Linked DNA regions of Homo sapiens: regions 1 and 3 are each linked to region 2. The links are contacts of gene promoters, found by promoter capture Hi-C in human tissues and cell types (Jung and others, 2019). All regions are on one chromosome and are shown on one strand. The core of a region is centred on a gene start or on the middle of the fragment in contact, and the rest is flanking DNA. Distances in the headings are between cores, read along the strand shown.

Region 1 (2,998 bases), core at 157-2,656, 430 kb before region 2:
CAACAGAGAAGCGGACACCTTGTGTTGTGCTGTAACAGAGCAAATTTGGTCGTCCCTGACTCTGCTTTCTGTTCCTTCTCCACCTTCATCAAATGGTGCCTGGGTGACTAGGTGAAAAATGCAAAATCAATCCAGGTAGCTGGCTTTTGTGTGAAAACACAGACAGAAAAGCACTCTTGTTGTCCTTTGACCTCTGATAAACTCAAATACATTTGGAAGTATTCAGAAATTCAGGTGAGCACTTCAGTTATCCAAAGGCCTGGGCTTCTCATAAAACCCAGGCACTTTCTTTTTTTTTTTTTTTTTTTTTCTCTTTAATTATGGTAAATATTTAATGTTTCCTTATAAAATAATTACAGCCTTAATAGAAACAAAACTGTTGAAAGTGTACCTGGATGACAATAATGGTTAAATATACACTTTAATAATTTAAAGTGATGAGTTTTTTTTTTTCACAAAAGTTTAAGGTGGTAATGAAATCATTGGAATCCCTTTTACCAAAGTGAATTTTAAAAATTACATTTTCCCTCTTGCAATCATGTTTGTAGCATAAAGGAGCAATAAATGGGGGCAGGGAGTAAAGCTTGGGAACTAGTCTATGTTAGGCTTGAGTAGTCTAGGGCAATGTCTGATAAAGGAGGGGTTTGAATTTTGGTATGGAAGGCTTTCTTTTTTTTTTTTTTTTTTTTAATCTGTTTTCTTTTTTCTTTTTTTTTTTACTTTTTTTTTTTTTATTATACTTTAAGTTTTAGGGTACATGTGCACATTGTGCAGGTTAGTTACATATGTATACATGTGCCATGCTGGTGTGCTGCACCCACTAACTCGTCATCTAGCATTAGGTATATCTCCCAATGCTATCCCTCCCCACTCCCCCTACTCCTCGACAGTCCCCAGAGTGTGATATTCCCCTTCCTGTGTCCATGTGATCTCATTGTTCAATTCCCACCTATGAGTGAGAATATGCGGTGTTTGGTTTTTTGTTCTTGTGATAGTTTACTGAGAATGATGATTTCCAGTTTCATCCATGTCCCTACAAAGGACATGAACTCATCATTTTTTATGGCTGCATAGTATTCCATGGTGTATATGTGCCACATTTTCTTAATCCAGTCTATCATTGTTGGACATTTGGGTTGGTTCCAAGTCTTTGCTATTGTGAATAATGCCGCAATAAACATACGTGTGCATGTGTCTTTATAGCAGCATGATTTCTAGTCCTTTGGGTATATACCCAGTAATGGGATGGCTGGGTCAAATGGTATTTCTAGTTCTAGATCCCTGAGGAATCGCCACACTGACTTCCACAATGGTTGAACTAGTTTACAGTCCCACCAACAGTGTAAAAGTGTTCCTATTTCTCCACATCCTCTCCAGCACCTGTTGTTTCCTGACTTTTTAATGATTGCCATTCTAACTGATGTGAGATGATATCTCATAGTGGTTTTGATTTGCATTTCTCTGATGGCCAGTGATGGTGAGCATTTTTTCATGTGTTTTTTGGCTGCATAAATGTCTTCTTTTGAGAAGTGTCTGTTCATGTCCTTCGCCCACTTTTTGATGGGGTTGTTTGTTTTTTTCTTGTAAATTTGTTTGAGTTCATTGTAGATTCTGGATATTAGCCCTTTGTCAGATGAGTAGGTTGCAAAAATTTTCTCCCATGTTGTAGGTTGAACCCAGGCACTTTCTTAATGCTGAGGACTTTGGTAAAGCGCTGGTGTGTTCCTTCCCTGCCAGGCTGCCAAGACTGTGTTTTGCTCGAGTGCTCGGAGACAGTCAGACAAGCCGGAGTGCTCGTTGTCAACATATTAATTATGTTCTCTGTTTCCACAGGCTTTTCAGGAGGATTTAATCAGTTGGCATTTATGAGCCTATTTTGAAAATGCTTTTAGCAGCCATAACCCCACACCTCCCCCACCCCCAAATAGTGTCCTCTTGCCATGCTGACCTCCTGCAGGGTGGGTGAGGATTGGGGTGGGAAGAGCTGTTTCTTTTTGCTTTGCTTTGCTTTCTCAGTTATTTCATAGGAAATATTTTTCTGTTAAAAGAAAACAAGTTGGTGCTAGATACAAGGGCAGAGAAAATTGGCTTCTTGGAGAGGAATGATTTCCTAAGGGAGAGGTTGAGTTTTGGTTTTATAGGTTGCAGTGTCTCACTGCTGATCCAAGCTTACCATCCTGCTTCTCATTGGAGTTAGCCTTTTGAGTTTCAGGCCCTGACCTGGTTTTTGACATTTGGCAGCTGGGCTGCCCAGATGCCGGGTGCTCAGTGTGGCCTGGGGGTGGAGGGGCACTTGGAGAGGAGCGCAAGCAGTGCTCTGTAGCTGAGGTGTCTCAGCGCCTCCTTGCTCCCCGCCTCCTCCTCCTTTCTCTTTCAGAAGGGTTAACATGGACAGTATTCCCCATTCTTTCCTGACATTCGCTGTCCATACCCACTCTGTATTCAGCCACTGAAAGAGTGGCTATGATCATTTTCAGTGGCAGTTAATGTAGACAAGGGCTGCGGCCACCAGCTGCTGGCTGGACCATCACCTGGTAGACAGTGGGAGTCGCCCTGCACCTCCTTAGTTACAGCTGGGACTCTTGGAGAACATTTCCCTTGTCTGGAGGGAAATGAGGTGGATTATTCGTATGTTACAAAAGACAGTAGTTTCTGTCTGCCCAGAAGATAGAATTATTGCAGCAGTAGCCAGAGGACTCCTTCTACCATCCAAACTGGGTCTATTTAAAGAGGAGGTGCTAAAATAGAGATAGTTACTGATTTTGGGTATTTAAAAGAGATTAAGATTTTCATATAGTTATTAACATGATTAAGAGTTTTCATCACTTATACTAAGAAGCCATGGATTTGACTTTTATTATATATTCATGGATAAAACTATCCTTTTAGAGGTTTTCATTAAAACATATAATTTTAATCTTGGTTTACTCTAGTGCACACCTGGTACCTCATTATTCCTCTAATTTGAGATACATGATAAGGCTTGATTTGTCAGCCA
Region 2 (2,757 bases), core at 209-2,708:
GACAGGGTCTTACTATGTTGCCTGGCTGGTCTCAAACTCCTGGGCTCAAGCCATCTGCCCGCCTGAGCCTCCCAAATTGCTGGGATTACAGGCGTGAGCCACTGCGCTCGGCTATAACGATTATTTTTAAGTATGTCTTTAAGATTTTTTTTTTAATTGAGAGAAGGTAAACAACAGTTAATTTTCCAAGTGGCACAAAAAAGTAACAATGAAAATGTCCTACCCTGGAGCTCTCCTGACTTTCTCATAGGCGACTGTTTTTTTCTTTGTATTTCACATCATAAATAACCAAGTTAAATGTAACACTATTCCACCTCTAGCCATAAGGTGCTCTTTTTCTAGTCTTGTTGACCCTAAAGATTTGTAGGTGGGAGAAATCAGGAACCCAGGAAAGGAAAAACTCCTGATCTTTAATGCAGGTTTATGCTTTACATAGTAATTTGATGGGACCTCGCCGTCCCTGTCAGGTCTGAATGTCACTTCATCTGCTGTGATCACACCTGAACCCTCAGTTCATCAAGACGTTAAAGGACAGTGTAACATAAACTTGTAACTGCATGCACTAAGTCATAAACAGACGCTGTTGTTGCAGATTAACCTCTACGTAAATAACGCGCCCAGAAGGGAGTGAGTACACGCTGCTGCCACGCTGCGACGGTCAATTTTCCTCCGGCACCCTTCCTAGTACCTGAGCAGCTCCCTCTCAAATCCCCAACACTACGTGTGGGAGGGTGCACTGAATTCCTCTTTAAAAAGGCCACTGGAAGGCGTGGCTGGGAGGGGACGCGCTCTAGACCCCCTGGTGCCAGGGCAGGTGCACGCTACCGCGCTTTCGGGGCGGGGCCCAGGGCCCCACCTGAGGCGGGGGGCCGCGGGCTCTGGGCGTAGGTGCAGCTTCTCCGGCCTGGTGCGGGGCCAGACGGCCGCCGCCGGCTTAGCGGGGGAACTTCGCCTAGTCCTCGGGCTGCGGTCGCAGCGTCATTTTGCCTGAGTTGGATCACGCTCGTCCACCCACCCCGTGTAAAAATAACAGGTGAATACCCTATGTGGGGGTCCTCATCGCCGCCATTTCCAGAAGCTTCCAGTCACAGCCACTGCCACGGTCGCCACAAATGCTACTGCAGAGCCCGCTTGCCCAGCAGCGTCACCGGCGCCTGCCCTGCCTCTTCGCCCAGCCTTTGATTCCCCCTCCTTTGTCGGATAGTGTCTGCGGCGGGGAGGCGGTGACACTAGTCCGAGTGGGGCGTGGAGACCGACCAGCACGAAGGGCGGAGTTCCGGCCCGCACCCCTCCGCCGCCTGCCGCTTGGTACGTCCCGCTTCCCCGCCCTGCGGCTCGCGGAGCCTGGCTGAGCAGCAGGAGGGGCGGGCGCCGGGGGGCGGGGCGGTCACGCCGCCCGTCCCGTGCCCGCGGTAGTCACGTGTCCGCGGGTGTCACGTGCTCGCGTCGCAGCCAATCGCGGGGCGACGCTGTCCTGGGAGCGAGGAGGCTGTGGTGAGAGACGGACCGAGACCGGAGATGTTTTCAAGCCCGGCTCCGGCGGCTTTACAGGCGGCTGCAGCGGCGACGAAGACAACGACAGCGACGGCTACGCCGAAGCACTCGTTCCGGGGGTGAAGCCTCCTGCGCCGGCCTTGCCTCGGGTCCGTACGGGTGAGGGGGGCGTGGCGACAGGAAAGGAGGAAGGAGGGGCGCGGTTTCGAGCTTGTCCCCGGCGCCAGGGAGGAGATCCCCTCAGTTCTGCGCTGCTCCCGTTCCCCCTCCCCAGAGCAAGGTAGGGGACGCGCCCTGCCCGCCCCCCCCGGTCCCGACGCGCCGCCCGCCCAGCCTGGCCCGAGCCGTAGCTCGCCTGACAGTGACAGGCCGTTAGTGCCCCCCGGCGCGGGTCCGCCGGGGCCCCGCCCGCCGCCGCCCCTCCCGGCGTCGCGAGGAGCCGCGGCGCAGGTGGGAGCCGCCAACTGGGCGGGGGCGCTGCGCGGGGCGGGGCGGGGGCCGGGCGGAGGGCCGCGAGCTGGCCTCGTCGCGGGCGCCCCTCACCGCGGCTGGCGGGGCTGGGCTGCCGCCGCCTCCCGGAACATGGCGGGGCCGGAGGAGCGTGTGCGTGCGAGTGTGAGTGTGCGCGGCCGAGAGGGCGCCGCTGGCGTGCGGCGGTCGGACCCGCGGGGGCGGGGGCGCGCCCGGCCCGCCGCGCGTTCCCGCCGCCAGCCGCCGAGCGTGCGCCGACGCCGGGGAGTCTGCCGCGGCCGCTCGGGCCGGGAGCGTCGGAGGTACCCGGGTCCTGGGAGAGGTGGATGAAATCAAGAAGGGGAAATTGCTGCTTTAGTAGTGTCCGGGGAAAGAGCAGCCACTCTACAGTTCTGTCTTAAATGCCAGTGTAAAATAACCTTGCCGCATTGGACAGGCAGTTCCCGTCATCGTTTTTCAAGTACCCACTTGTGATGCTTCAAGACCCCTGGAGCACGTCAGGTTCTTAGATCTCGTTTTGAGGAGTGATGTGGAGTGACGCATCCTTACAGATCCCAAAGCGTTGAATAAACGGTTGTACAAAGAGGTATGCGAAGCTTAGCTGACAGCTGTTTTAGTAATAACAGTAAGACGCTGTCTGGGATAGGAAGTTACTGTTGCACTCGTTGAAACCTTAGGAAACATTTAAAGCAGTGTAGTCACCGGGATTGTAATTTCCACTGGACACCCGTGGTTAAACTGCGAACTAAGGTGAAGTGTGTTGCAGATCCAGTGCTGTGTATGTAATGGTTC
Region 3 (3,000 bases), core at 329-2,828, 460 kb before region 2:
AAGATGGCACTCCTATACATTTGGAGAAAACATTTTTTACATTGTTTGCCTGTCTGTAGCTCTTGGCCTATACAACATTCCCTGAGCATCAGAAGAGTTACCAGAGAAAACTTAAAATACGCCAACATTTGGCCCCTGTCCCAAGACACTGATTTAATCTGATGGAGTGGGGGCCAGGCATCTGTATTCTGGGTGATTCTAACGGGCAGCCAGGGCGCGGGACCCATGGGACTCTGCACCACCTGACCTTCCCGCTGGCTCAGGAGTTCCAGCCAATTCTATTTTTCCCCTGGAAATGTGGAAATTGGGGGATGATAGTTCCTTCTTGGAAATGTGGAGATGGGAGAGACTGAGCCAGTGGCTGGAGGGTGGGTAGCCACGACTGATTTGTATGAGTTGGCATCATAGGCAATAGCAGCTATGCGAGCAGAGCAGAGGCTCCTGGGCAAAGGCGGAGGGGCAGTGAGATGCTGCCAGGGAGTGAGCTCAGCTCAGACGCCCTCCAACCCCTTGGAACAACAGCATGCAGGAGCCGACCCTCCGCTCCTTGAAATGAGGCTAACTCTTTCAAATTCAGAAGTTAGGGCTTTCCTCCATTGAAAATAAGGGGGAGATTAAAAAGCAGGAAACAGCCCTGGAAGACCCCTCGAGAGGAATCGGCTCAGGTCTGTGCCTCATGACAGAGTCCTTAATCTGGGGTCTGAGCTTCTGGGTCTCTATGGTTGCTCGGGTAGAGTTCTATGGGCATTTGTACATACGTGCATTTTATAGAGGAGAAAGTCTATATGTTTTATTCTGAAAAGGGCCCATGAACCTTATAATTAAAAACAACTGCTCTATGAGAACAGAAAATTTTAAGAACGTCTCTCCTTCTAAACCTATGTAGGAATTTAAATGTTTTAGAAAACAAATACTGCGTTAATATTACAGAGAAAGGCAGAGAGAGAGATCATCAGTACGTTCAGTGCAAATTCTAAACGTATGTATATTTTGTGTGTATGTGTGTATTTATTGGAACTGAGGCTGGTTTTACAATATATCTAGGAGAATAATTCCATATGTTGGAGGATAGTAACTCTCATATAATTTGATGGGAGTAGATTGTGGTACAGCCATCATTTTGGGAAACTTCTTTTGTATTATCTACTAAAATTATAGCTAATAGAACTGCATGCACACGTGAATCAGCATTTTTTTATTTTTATTTTTTGAGATGGAGTCTCACTCTGTCACCCAGGCTAGAGTACAATGGCGTGATCTTGGCTCACTGCAACCTCTGCCTCCTGGGTTCAAGTGATTCTCCTGTCTCAGCCTCCTAAGTTGCTGGGACTACAGGCGTGCACCACAGTGCCCAGCTAATTTTTGTATTTTTAGTAGAGATAGGGTTTCGCCATGTTGGTCAGGCTGGTCTCGAACTCCAGACTTCAGGTGATCCAACCGCCTTGGCATCCCAAAGTGCTGGGATTAGAGGCGTGAGCCACCATGCCCAGCCCCACAGTAGCATTTTTAAATTGACAAGTAATAGTTGTCTATATTTATTGGGGCAGCATTATTAATAGCCCCCAAATGCAAGCAATTGAACAGTGGAATGGATAAATTGTGGCAGTTGCAATGGAACTCTATACAGCAATGAAAAAGAATGAAATAGAGCTATATAAAACAATATGTGTGTATGAAACTCATAAACGTAATACTGAGCAAAAGAAACAAGACACAAAAGAAAAAAACTAAACTATTTTATTTCTGTAACGCTCAAGACAGGCAAACCTAACCTATGGCGCTGGAGGTCAGGAGAGTGGCCACTCTAGCAGAGGCACAAGGAGGCTTCTGGGGTGCTAGTGATGTTCTATTGCTTGGTGATACTTGGGTGTGTGCCCTTTGTGGTAATTCATCAAGTTGTACACTTACAGCTTATATACTTTTAGTTCTCAATATTATGCACTTTAAAAATGTTATGCTTATTATCTGCAAACACATGCATACTGCATTACATTTAAATAATGAAGGACTTATATGCACAATATATAAGGAATTGCCACAGATATAAAATGTAGAAAACTGGCAAAATAAGCAAAAAGGGGTTTCACAAAAGAGTGATGAGCAGTCAAGCGGGTCCCAAACCGCAGCAGTGGGAGCTGCCAGGCTGACTTGCTACCTTTCCATAGATTTGGCCTGTAAGACAACCATGATCCGTATGGATGCAGACAACTTATTTCAAATTAGTTCCTTTTCCTCCCAATCCCACGGGGGCTCTGTGGAGGCAGGCGTCGGGGAGGCTGCACAGACAGGGGATCAGTGCACAGCTGAGGACCCCTGAGCCTAGGAGACCACCAGTCTCAGAAGGGGCTGCTGGCGGCCTAGTGACTCTCCTCTCCAGAGACATTGTCATTGTCACCCTGGAGTGCAAGCAAGTCTCTAGGGATAATTTTTGCTGTCTCTTTTTAATTTAAAAATAAATTATGAGCTGGGCATGGTGGCTCACGCCTGTAATCCCAGGACTTTGAGAGGCCGAGGCTGGCGGATCACTTGAGGTCAGGAGTTTGAGACCAGCCTGGCCAACATGGCGAAACCCCGTCTCTACTAAAAATACAAAAAATTAGCTGGGCGTGGAGGTGGGCGCCTGCAGTCCCAGCTAGTCAGAAGACTGAGGCAGGAGAATCGCTTGAACCTGGGAGGCAGAAGTTGCAGTGAGCTGAGATTGCACTACTGTACTCTAGCCTGGGCAACAGAGCAAGACTCCGTCTCTAAATAAATATAAAATAAAATAAATTATGAATTTTTGTCTTTTTTTCATATACTCAGACTAAATAAAGGCATTTTTACTGGTGCATTCCTCAACTGACTTTTCTTCTATGTGTTTGTAATCTGTAGTAGAAAAGATAACCCTGCTCACACTGTTCTTTCATTTCTGAGCTAAGGAAATTTGTAATGCTGCACATTTTCACTTGTTAATTAACTGTCTCATCTTTGGGTGGTTACATTTTAATCCAGGTGTTAGTG

What was found. The method cuts DNA at HindIII sites, captures the fragments that hold promoters and counts their contacts. A contact is called where the count stands out against the background at its distance.
Region 1: a contact is called between a fragment that was not itself captured here and the fragment with the promoter of ANKRD12 in region 2, in 1 of the 25 tissues and cell types used here (dorsolateral prefrontal cortex).
Region 3: a contact is called between a fragment that was not itself captured here and the fragment with the promoter of ANKRD12 in region 2, in 1 of the 25 tissues and cell types used here (heart left ventricle).

The regions. Positions count from the first base shown.
Region 1 is chr18:8,710,169-8,713,166 of GRCh38, forward strand. The region is part of intron 1 of MTCL1 (microtubule crosslinking factor 1); the gene reads left to right. Among named protein-coding and RNA genes, the nearest start is that of GACAT2, 4.0 kb to the left of the region's middle. The HindIII fragment of the contact is 3,424 bases long and covers 1-2,998 here.
Region 2 is chr18:9,135,323-9,138,079 of GRCh38, forward strand. ANKRD12 (ankyrin repeat domain 12) reads left to right here and starts at 1,459. Exons shown (of 13, transcript NM_015208.5): 1 at 1,459-1,643. NDUFV2-AS1 (NDUFV2 antisense RNA 1) reads right to left here and starts at 1,398. Exons shown (of 3, transcript NR_110772.1): 1 at 1,042-1,398. RefSeq lists silencers at 561-734, 737-826, 1,177-1,526, 1,737-2,136, 2,177-2,226 and enhancers at 1,017-1,066, 1,557-1,606. The HindIII fragment of the contact is 7,523 bases long and covers 1-1,819 here.
Region 3 is chr18:8,675,835-8,678,834 of GRCh38, forward strand. No RefSeq gene overlaps it. Among named protein-coding and RNA genes, the nearest start is that of MTCL1, 28 kb to the right of the region's middle. The HindIII fragment of the contact is 6,680 bases long and covers 1-3,000 here.